Linked DNA regions of Homo sapiens: all the other regions are linked to region 4. Evidence: promoter capture Hi-C in human tissues and cell types (Jung and others, 2019). All regions are on one chromosome and are shown on one strand. Each heading gives the region's core, a stretch centred on a gene start or on the middle of the fragment in contact. The rest is flanking DNA. Distances are from core to core; before and after follow the strand shown.

The links. The method cuts DNA at HindIII sites, captures the fragments that hold promoters and counts their contacts. A contact is called where the count stands out against the background at its distance.
Region 1: a fragment that was not itself captured here is called in contact with the fragment with the promoter of FCN2 in region 4 in 2 of the 25 tissues and cell types used here (H1 embryonic stem cells and liver).
Region 2: a contact is called between a fragment that was not itself captured here and the fragment with the promoter of FCN2 in region 4, in 2 of the 25 tissues and cell types used here (liver and thymus).
Region 3: a fragment that was not itself captured here is called in contact with the fragment with the promoter of FCN2 in region 4 in 5 of the 25 tissues and cell types used here (IMR-90 fibroblasts, dorsolateral prefrontal cortex, mesenchymal stem cells and 2 more).

What each region holds. Positions count from the first base shown.
Region 1 is chr9:135,039,425-135,042,124 of GRCh38, reverse strand. No RefSeq gene overlaps it. Among named protein-coding and RNA genes, the nearest start is that of OLFM1, 47 kb to the left of the region's middle. The HindIII fragment of the contact is 3,441 bases long and covers 1-2,700 here.
Region 2 is chr9:135,057,731-135,060,430 of GRCh38, reverse strand. No RefSeq gene overlaps it. Among named protein-coding and RNA genes, the nearest start is that of OLFM1, 29 kb to the left of the region's middle. The HindIII fragment of the contact is 4,932 bases long and covers 1-2,700 here.
Region 3 is chr9:135,022,418-135,025,120 of GRCh38, reverse strand. No RefSeq gene overlaps it. Among named protein-coding and RNA genes, the nearest start is that of OLFM1, 64 kb to the left of the region's middle. RefSeq lists an enhancer at 1,912-2,552. The HindIII fragment of the contact is 4,205 bases long and covers 1-2,703 here.
Region 4 is chr9:134,879,543-134,882,242 of GRCh38, reverse strand. It overlaps FCN2 (ficolin 2), which reads right to left and starts at 1,433. Exons shown (of 8, transcript NM_004108.3): 1 at 1,322-1,433. The coding sequence starts at 1,421. The HindIII fragment of the contact is 19,799 bases long and covers 1-2,700 here.

The DNA of each region.
Region 1 (2,700 bases), core at 115-2,614, 160 kb before region 4:
TGTGCAGAGCAGGCCAGCTTCATCTAAGAAAGGGGGCTGTGGATATAATTGTATGCAAATATGCACCCACACATATGTAATCACTTGCATTTTAAAATGTGGGAGAGTAAGTTTTGAAATCCTGTGGAATAGTTATCTGCGGTGAGAGGAAAAAGAGTGGAAGGGAAGGAGGAATGCTGGCTTTTTCTGCACCTGCCTTCTTGTGAATTACTGCAGGTAACTTTAAAACGCCATGTAGAGCTCGTGAGATTATATCCTATAGATCCCACTGCTGGAGAGAGGCTAAGTGATCTTACACTGGTTTTGGCAACTGTGCTAGTAGTCATGGTATTGTTGTCGGCCTTGTTGTTCTGAAAATACTACGGACGTGTGGGTGGAGTGTACACAGGTAGTGAGACATAGCAATTATGTATAAAGATGATGCATGTAAGAGAAAAAAGACACAGATATAAAATGGAATAAACCACATAGAAGCCAGTAATCCTACATTGGCATGGTAAATATTACAATGATGTTATGGTGTACTTTCCATAGTGTGTGTGTATTACTTCTGTTCACCAAAAAGGCCAAGAAACGATGACAAATTCAGTAACAATGAACATTCTCAGCACAGAGACTATGGTCTCTAAATACCATTTCCCCACCATAAGGACCCAGGGTTCTTTGGAGAAATGACTGGTCCAGTTTGGGACCAAGAAGTATCCAAGTTGAACCTGGAGCATCTTCTTGTGCCAAAATAAAGGATGCATTGAAGATAAGCATGCTTGTGCCAAAGGCACTAGGCCCTCCTCTCCACCCCTGCATGGGCAGTGAACACCCTTCCATATCAGTGTTTCTCCCCACACACTCCTTAACTTGCCTCAAGTCACACACACACACACACGCACGCACGCACGCACGCACGCACGCATTTTTTTTTCAAAACAACAAGCATCTTTTAAAAAAAAAAATCTCGTACGTGAGGCATCTTAATCCATCAATCTTTCATTGCACAATGTATTGTGTACCCGATCCTGAAAAGGGAACAGGGTCTGTGGCTTTGAGGAGGTCCCTGGAAGACAAACACGGAACAGGAAGATAGAGGAGGATTCCATGTGATTTTCGTATGTGCTATGCAGGCTCCGCCATCCTGGAGATTCTTGAGCTGAGAGACAGGGGAGACTTCCCAGAGAAGGTGGGAAGGGAAGAGAGGGATGAAGGAGGAGAGAGCCGCGGGACTCCAGCTCCGGTTTCTCCCCCTACATTGCATCGGGAATGCGGGGTCCTGAATGCATTATTTTACTCAGTGCTGTGTGGGCTAGATAAAAGGTGTCCACATGCTTCTGGGGCTCCACAGCGCAGGCAGATTTTCTGAAGGAATTTGTTATAAATAATTAATGTTGACTTCTTCGGTTTTATGTAATGAAAATATTTTTTGGTTTGTCCTCTTTTTATAACCTTGTTTGTTGGTATATGCCACAGAATTTTAAATTTATGCACATTCATATTTCCTTTTTTGATTTTTTAATCATACTTAAAATGAAATTCTGCACCATGAATGAAAGGAAATAACTTCTTAAGCTTTTCATCTTTAAAGAAATAATGCTAACCACCACTGCATGCACCTGGTCGCTCCTGCTCACTGCTGGGCTCCTGCTCACTACTGGTCTCCTGATCACCGCTGGGCTGTACTTCCTGGCAGACTTCCCATACGAAGCAGGTGCCAGGTGAGATGTTGGGTGATGGTTGAATAGGCATGTAACCTGAACAAATGGCATCCACAAATCCTGGGGTCTTTGCATAGTGTGGGGAACTCTCATCCTTATTTCGATTGGATTTTTTATGGGAATCCAGTCAAAGGATGCAGGAGGGTGCTGCACTGAGGGCTTGAACTCACCTTTCCAAACATAAGGTCAGTTTGGCTTCCAGATCTCAGAACTGGACGCCTGTGGAAAAGATGCCAGGTCAGAAGCATCCCCTGCTGGATTCTGGCAATGATCTTCCCTCTGGGGGAGCGACGTGGAGGAGCTGCCTCTGTGAGCTGTGGGCTCAGCTTCTGTCCCAGGTACTCACCTCCTGCGTGGTGGAGGCTGACAGAAAGCTTTCACCTGCTTGGAGTGATTGCTGTTCTCTTGGAAGATGCAAACCTGGGAAAACTCAGCTTTGGGGAACCTGGGTGCCTCATCGGAGAGTAGGGGCTGGCATAAATGTGAGAATTTGCCTGGGGATGGTGAATTTTGTGTCCATAGCAGAATATCTGAAAAAAAATGGACCGTCCAGTGTGCCTGAACTCATCAGACGGGCCCTGCCTGGCACTCTGCAAAGGCAGTTTCTGCTCACCCTGCACCTGGCGTTTGCAGAGAGGGAACCTTGAGGAGCTTCTCACTCCTCCCCAGTGTCTCGGCATCTCTCAGAGGAGCTGCTCAGCGGGGCCTCGGTGGCTGGTGGCTCGCATCAGAGATGAAGCCTGTGCTGAGCTGAGCATGCACCACTGGAGGCTGCAGGTCTGGGCCCAGCCGTGGCCAGCGGCCTTTCCGTGTTGCCCCACAGCCTGCAGGCATCGGGTGTGAGCGTGTCCTGGGGACTGCATTTCTGCAGGGTGCACCCTGCACTCCCTGCGCCTCACCTCTGGCTGCCACTTTGGGAATCACAGAAGGGAGGATGTTCTTGGACAGTGGCCTGGTCAGTATCCCTGGTAGCTCCCAGCTGGGTACACTCGTG
Region 2 (2,700 bases), core at 89-2,588, 180 kb before region 4:
ATACTGGGCATCTTCTTGTGTGCTTATTGGCCCTGTGCATATTGTCTTGAGCTGTGCCCAGCTGTTTTGCCCATTTTCTAATAGATATTTTTGTCTTCTCCATGAATTGTAAAAGTTCTTCCTATATTCTGGGTATAAGTCTTTTGTCAGATAGATGTATTTTCAATACTCTCTTCCACTCTGTGCCTTGCTCCTTTTTGGTTTGTTTTCTTAGCGGTGGCTTTCAAGTTTTCGATTTTGATAAAGTTAACTTTTTCAATTTATATTTTGTGGTTTGTGTTTTTTGCAACCAACCTAAGAAATCTGTGCCCCACAGTTACAAAGATTTTCTCCTGTTTTCTTCTGGAAGTTTAGTATTAGCTTTTGCACTTTGCCCTATGATTCGAGTTTTGCTTTTGTATGTGGTGTGAGGTGAGGGTCAATTTTCATTTTCTCTTCATAGGTTTACCCCATAATTCCAGCAGCATTTGTCAAAAAAATTCTTCTTTCCCCATGAATTGCCACTGCACTTTGGTTAATCATGAATTTCACATATGTGTGAAATATTTCTGCACTCTCTGTTAGAGATCACTGCTTTATATATGTATCCTTTTGCAAAATCCTCACTGTCTTGGTTATTATACATTTACAATAAATCTTAAAATCAGATGAGTTTGAGCCCTCCACTTTGTTTTTGTGCTTTTTCAGGGGTGAAGCACATAATCTGAAGTCCACTTATATTTGGGCTGTGTATCCTTCATATTAATAAAAATGCTGATCTAGTGGAGCTACTCTTAGCATTTATATTTAAGCTTATTTTTCAATGAACCTTTACCTTTACATCTTTTTAGGTTAGCCTACACCTTTAAATCTTTCTGAAAACTGCTTTTACTGATGTATATGTGTATCGTACACATGGCATATATATGTGGGTTTATATATCATACACTTTGTTTATATACCTATAACTTGATGAATTTTTGCAAACCAAACACATCCATGAATCCAGCACAAGTTAAATAAACAGAACGTTCCCAGTCCCCGAGAAAGCCCCTCCTGCTCCTTTCCAGTCCCTAAGCCCCAGTGCTCACTACTCTGGATTTTAAACCTTAGTTTTGCTTGTTTTGTGCTTTACGTACATGAAACATAGAATGTCTCCATTTGATGATGTGATTTAAGTAGAACTATACTTGGAAAGCTCACAATTACACAATTATTTATATTCGGCACTAAACACATTTCCCATTTGATCCAAGTAGAATTAGTCTAAGGGTTTCTGCCGCTTGCTTGATGATAGGAATGACAGAGGTATCATTAAAATGTAGACCCCAGGTTCCTTTGCTGACAATTCAAATCCAGTGGATGGATCTGGGCCTGGGAATCTGTATTTATTTATTGCTTTTATAATTATTTTTAATCGACATAGAATAATTGCCCATACTTATGGGGCACAGTGTGAGATTTTAATACATGTATACAGTATGTAATGATCATTTGATTTCAGGGTGATTAGCATAGCCATTGCTGCAAACATTTATCATTTCTGTGTGTTGGGAACATTTGAAATCCACTCTCCTAGCTATTTATTAAATTGTTGTTAATTAATTACAGTCATCCTAGGTGCAATAGAGCCCTGAACTCATTCCTCCTCCCTAGCTGGCCATTTACATCCCTTAACCAACCTTTGATTACCCCGCCTTCCCTTCAACTTTGTTCTTTTTAAAAATTGCTTTGGCTATTCTAAGTCATTACCATTTTTGTATACATTTTTTTAATCAGCCTGTCAATTTCTCCATTCCAGTAAAATGCCTCCTGGGTTGCACTGAATCTATAGATCAGTTTAGAGAGGACTGACCTTTTGACAATGCCGGATACATAAATAGGGTCTGTCTTCCATTTACTTACGTAAATTTCTCTCAGCAGCATTTCATGGTTTTCAGTGAGGAGGAGTTACACTTTTTTGTTAAATTCATTCCTTCTGTGGCTTGTGGTGCTATTGTAAGAGTAATTTTTAAAATTTCACTTTCTAATTGTTTGATATTAGTATATAAACTGTGACTGATTTCTGTATCTTGTATCTTTCAATTTTGCTACATGCACTTATTAATTCCAGTAATTGTTTTACAGACTTCTTAGCATTTTTTACACAAGCAATTATTTTACCCACAGATAGGAACTGCTTTATTTCTTATCAAATCTGAATGCTTTTATTTCTTCATCTTCCTTTTGCAATGACTAGAATTTCAAGTAAATGTTTGAATAGAAGTGGCGAGAGCAAGAACTCTTGTTACCAATCTTATAGGGAAGATTAAGTGTGATAATTAGCTATGGATTTTACATAGCTACCCTTTATTCTTTATAAGGGGTATGCTTTATAAAGCTACCCTTTATCCTACCCTTATTCTTATTTCTCTGGGAGTTTATGATTGGATATGGAATTTTTATCTGATGTTTTTCTGTATCTATTAAAATGATTATATGGTTTTCTGCCTTCCTTTATTCTGTTAATATGGTGAATGACACTGATTGAGTTTCAAATGTTAAACCAACCTTGCATTTTGAGATAAAATTTACTTGTTCATAATGTACTATTATTTGTATATGTTGCTAGATTTCCTGAGTTGCTATTTTGTTAAGGATTGTTGTGTCTATGTTTGTGAGGAGTATTGGTTTATAGCTTTTTTCTTTTTTTCTTGTGATGTCTTTGTTTTGGTATCAGGA
Region 3 (2,703 bases), core at 23-2,522, 140 kb before region 4:
TTTCTCCTTTGACTCATATGTCCTTTGGAAAGATGTTATTTAATTCCTAATACTTGTGGATTTTCCACATATATTTCTTTTGTTGATTTTCATTTTAAGACTGTGGTATGTGAACACACTTTATATGATTTGTATTCTAAATTTCAGATTTGTTTTGTGGCTCATAATCTGGTCTGTCTTAGGGAAGCTTCCACGTACCCTTAAGAACATGTATTCTGTTGACGTTGGGTAGAGTGTACCAGAGATGCCAGGTGGGCCAAGTTGGCTGACGGTGTTGTTCAGGTCATCCACATCCTCACGGATTTTCTGCCAAGTACTGAGAGAGAATCGTTTACATCTCCAACAGTAATTATGGATTTGTCTAGTTCACTTTTCAGCTCTCTCATTTTTTGCTTCAGGTGTTTTGAAGCTGTGTTATTAAGTATATCTTTTAGATTTGTATGTCTCCTTGAAAAATCAAGTCTTTTATGGTGATGTAATGTTGCCTTTATCCCTGACAATTCTCCTTCTCGTGTCTCCTTCGTCTGATGTTAACATAGCTGCTCCGGCTGTACCTGGGCCGGCTCCCAAGAAGCTTCCATTCTTACACTCCCCAGTGGATTTTTGTGCACATTTTAAGTGTGAGAACCAGGGCCATCGGCATCATAAGCTCAGTGAGTGGAGATGGTGTCTTCTTTATTGAACCCCGTAGGAGGCACGAAGCCAGGCACAGACGTGATGTCAGGAGCTCGAAGATCTCCCGACAGGTGCCTGCCTTCCCCTTCTTGTCCCCATGGTCCATCCCCTTCGCCTCTGTCCACGTGGCTGTCCGAATTAGCATCCCGCATCACCTTGCTGGACTCCAGCCCACCTCTTCAGCTTCCTCTCTCCCCTCCCACCTTTGCTTCCTTGACTGGACATTTTTCCTTCTGGTCCATGGAGAGGCAGCACCCAACACTGTGCACCTCCAAGGTCCTCCTTCCTCTCCCAGGAATGCCACTAACGTCCAGGCCACTCTTTTGGGAGATCCCACGCCACCATTACCCCCTAGGAACACCTTCTTGGGCCCTCCGGAGCCGCTTCCCAGGTCCTGTGATCTGGTTTCTAAGGCTGGAGGTGTGATTGGCCTCACAGTCCTCCCGCCCCCGTGCAGCCTGCAGCAGGTGATCAGTGAAATGCACATCGCCTGAGTGAGTGCTGAGATGAGGTGGTGGCACGTGGCAGAGATTTGTCAGAAATTCTGGGAACAAATACCCTTCACAGTTCTCTAAAAAGGCAAAACTGGTGACAGGGAATGCAATGCCGGCAAACACAATCTCCTCACTTGCTTTGAAGCATGTAGGTCAATATTTCCATTTCAAGGAGGCTGTCATCAGCCTCGTCCATTATTAAGTGGGGGGCATGGGGAGCAGCTGTGGGGTTGACCATGGCAGCTGTCACAGCCCCACGTGGGCTGCTCCACTCTGAAGGGGTGAGGTGTTCTCTTCAGAAACACAATAATGAGTCACAGGTCCTGATTAGCAAGAAAGGCCGGAAAGCTGCTGCCAGCAGGACAGAGGCACAGACCAGGCTCCTTTCCAGAAAGTGCCCCCGGGGCTGAGGAGGCTCCTTTTGCAGGGCTGAGGTCTTGTGGCATGAAATTCCTCTCTCTGGCAGGGAAGCAGGCATGCGCAGACACCTCCCATCAGAACCATGGTGGATGGTGACTGTAGCTAGGTTTCAATATGGTTATTGTTTTCCTGATTATGAAAATAACACATAGCCATGATAGAAAGTTGAGAAAATACAGACATGGTGTAAAAAAGAAAGTAAGTGGCCGTAATCTCACCAAGCAAAGATCATTACTGTAGCTGCTGGGGATGAAGGGCGTGTACCTGTGAGACACACACCATGCTGGGCACACATGTAATCTTCCAATCATCCTGTAATTTTTCCAAAAACTGAGCAAGTGATTCTCAGTGAGGGCCTTCTGAGCCTCACTTTACTGGCAAGGAGACTCAGGCCTAGAGAGCTGAGGTGGCCTGTCTGCGATCCCATCGTGCAGCTGAGATCACATCCAAGCCCCCTGGCTCTTCTGCCTCTCCCCACTGCTTCTGGGGGTTGGTCCTCACAGCAGCTCACGCGCTTCCTTCCGTTCTTTTTTACAATCGAGTAGTTTTTGTTTGTTTATAGAACAGGGGTCCCATTGCACATATTAAGAGATATATCTTTTGTTCTCCACACAATGTCCTACCATTTGTGTATCCTCCCAAAACACCCAGGGTGACAATGTCATAGGGCACAGCCTCAGCACAGGCAGGTGAGCGCAGCTGGGGTGCACCGTGGGCCCTGAAATGCAGGGTAAGCCAATGGGAAGTTGGGGGAACACTCTGGTTTACAATGTCATAGGGCACAGCCTCGGCACAGGCAAGTGAGCTCAGCTGGGCGCACCCTGGACCCTGGAGTGCTGCGTGAGCTGTGGGAAGTCCAGGGACCCGCAGTTCTTGGTCTGTCTCTTTCTGCTTTCCCCATATCTGAAACGGGCCAGGTGCTTTCCAAGGTGTTTTGGCTCTGACCTGGAGGCTGGCACCACTCGAACGGGGTGTCCCCAGGGACCTGGGCCACTGTGGCGCCTGCCTTCAACCCCACTGCCAACCAGTCTCCAGGGTGTTGCCGGAAGTCGGGGGTGGCTCTCATGAGAAAGGCCGAGGAGGAAGGTCAGAGAAGTGGGAGGAGACCCAGGAA
Region 4 (2,700 bases), core at 184-2,683:
ACCTTACTTCCTCAGTACTGTGTGTCCTGAAACAAGTCCCTTAACCCCTCTGAGCCTCTGTTCCCTTACCTACCGAGGGGTGCAGGTTCATTTCAGCTCCTACCATTTAAGACAGCATCCTAATCTCGTCTGTTCTCATCTATCATATCATTGTAATCAATATCGGGTGAGAAGGACACAGGGAGAGAGGCTACCATTGCAACTCCCACGCCTGATCTTGGAGCAGATCTGAGAGTGGATGGGCTCCTGTGGGTCCACCTTGTTCCTCCACAGAGGGAGGCGTCCTTCAAGGACACTGAACAAGTTGGTGCGAAACTAGAGCTGGAATGCAGCTTGTTGTTTTTAATTAGATAACTCAAATTCAAGTGAGTGTGTTACAAAAATAACACGTGCTATTATTTGATCATTTAGAAACTCTAGAAGTATTTAAGGAAGAAAATAATGCCACCCTAACCCCACCACTCCACAACGAGCCACTAGGAGTTTCCAAGCGAATCCCCGCTGTTCCTGGCCTGTGTCACACTTCACGCCACGGATTGCTCCTTGAATGCGATGCTAGTCACAGCACACCGCAGAGCTCTGTGTCTCACATGCATTCCAGAAATCCTGACACGAATCTCTGCAAGCATCAGGAGCATCACAAATTCCTGACCCTGCATCCCAGCCCCGGGTAGACGGAGTCAGGACCTGACTCCAGAACCTGCATTTTCAACCTGCCCTCGCATGCGCCGGAGCCCATGGTTTGGCACCCGAGTGTCCCCTCGGGAGCCCCGAAGGAGGTCCAGAACTCACGGGGACAATGCCACCCTTATTGTGCCGCATCAGGGACACCATGGGAACTGCCATCTCCAGAGCCCAGCAGGTCCTGGATGGAAAGGTCCTGCAGTGCTCATCCCCGCCTGACACCCTGTCTTTCCGGGTGCTTATCCCCACCTCACACCCTGTCTCTCTGTGATGGCGACCATGGCAGAATATCTGACTGGTGTCTACCCAGCTGGCACCACAAGCCTCACCTCCCCACACAACACCATGACTACGCTTTTTACGCTTAGAGGGGGACATGTGGCCCAGGGAGACTGGAAACCTGCCTCGGTTTCCATTATGGGAGGGCAAGCAGAGGAAGCTCCGTCTCTGAGATGCCACATCCATTCGGGGCCTCTGCGTTTGTTCACATAAGATGAGGCATGCAGAGCTGCTGTCTCGTTAGACGATGCTCCACACGGCCTGGTGCAAGGCCTGGAAGCCAGGAAGCCACCAATCACGAAGCTGCCAGCTTTCAGGGACGAGAAGTTTCCAGGAGGAGGCCCTGGAGTGCCCTTACCTGGACAGGTGTCTGCCGCCTGGAGAGCCCAGGCCATGCCCAGGAAAGAGAGCAGCAGGGTGGCAGCGCCCAGGACCCCCACAGCTCTGTCCAGCTCCATCTCTTCTGGTCTTTGCTTCAAAAGGTGCCTGCCCTCTTATAGGGCTAGAGAAGCCAGCCTCCCTCAGACTCCAATTTCTCATCTTCCGAGTGACAGCCGCTTCCTCTCCGCGGGCTTGGTGACGCCAGCAGGAGGTGCGAGATCATCTCCAGGGCTGCTCCCTACCCCCCGCCCCTTGGGGATCCCATGGCGACTGTCATCCCTGCAGGGGGACGGTCTCCTTCCAGGGAACAGGCTGACTTGCTTGTGGCCTTGGGCAAAGAGCCCAGGCCCATCCTCCCACCTTTGTTCAGCGGTGAGCAGATGTCACCATGAGCTGAGAACGGGGAACAAGGAAGGGTTTGCTAAAGATGTTCTGCTTCAAAGAGGTCTCTCTCCCTTATCCGAATACCTAGAGTCCTCATGGCCAGGGCTGGTCATGGGCCACTGGTGTGGGCCTTACACAGTAACCCTCACCACATCATGAGCAGACTTGGGACTCTCCTCAGGAGGCTTGGAAACTGCCACTATGAGGTCCAGGCAGGCTGCCAGGGTGAAAAGGAGAGGAAAATGCGTGTGTGTCCACTGTTTCCTGGGGCAGTATGTAGAGCACAGGGGCACATGAACAGGAGGGAAAGGAGAGAAGAGTGGGGAGCCTGGGGGACTATGACCCAGGTACACATCTGAAGGGGAGACCTTGAGTGTGAATGCAGGGGCTTAGCCTGTAGGGAGGATGAGAGTAGGTGAATTTCACTCCTAGGGCCCAGGGAACCCCCTGAGCCCTGAGGCCAGACATCCCACCTGTAGGATGGCTGTGGACTTACTTCAGTGGTTGTGTTCGCCTTTTGGAGAAGAGCTGGCCTGAAGGTGCACTCTCGCCTTGGACTGAGCCAGGTTAGAGACAGAGACAGTAGCAGGTGGGGCCCCAGAGGCCGTATACCTAAAGCCCCCAGAGACGGAACCAGCACTGCACCTCCCACTACCACCACCGCACCCTGCCACCTGCTGCCATCGGGATGCCGAGGTGCCTTCTTCCTTGGCAAGATCAGTAGAAGGATTTTAAACTGTGACCCCAGCCCAGCAAAGCCACGCGAGAAACAAAATCCCATCGGATTTTCCTTCAATGCCCATGGAGATGTGTGGTCCTGAGACTATGACTAGTTAAGACCCCCCTCGGGTTCCGTGGTGTTTAGGGCAGACCTCTCAAGACTTAATTAAGGCTATGCCAGATGCAGATGAGGTCCAGGGATGAACCTGGGGAAGACACAGGCTCCATGGAGATGCAGATATGGAACCTAGA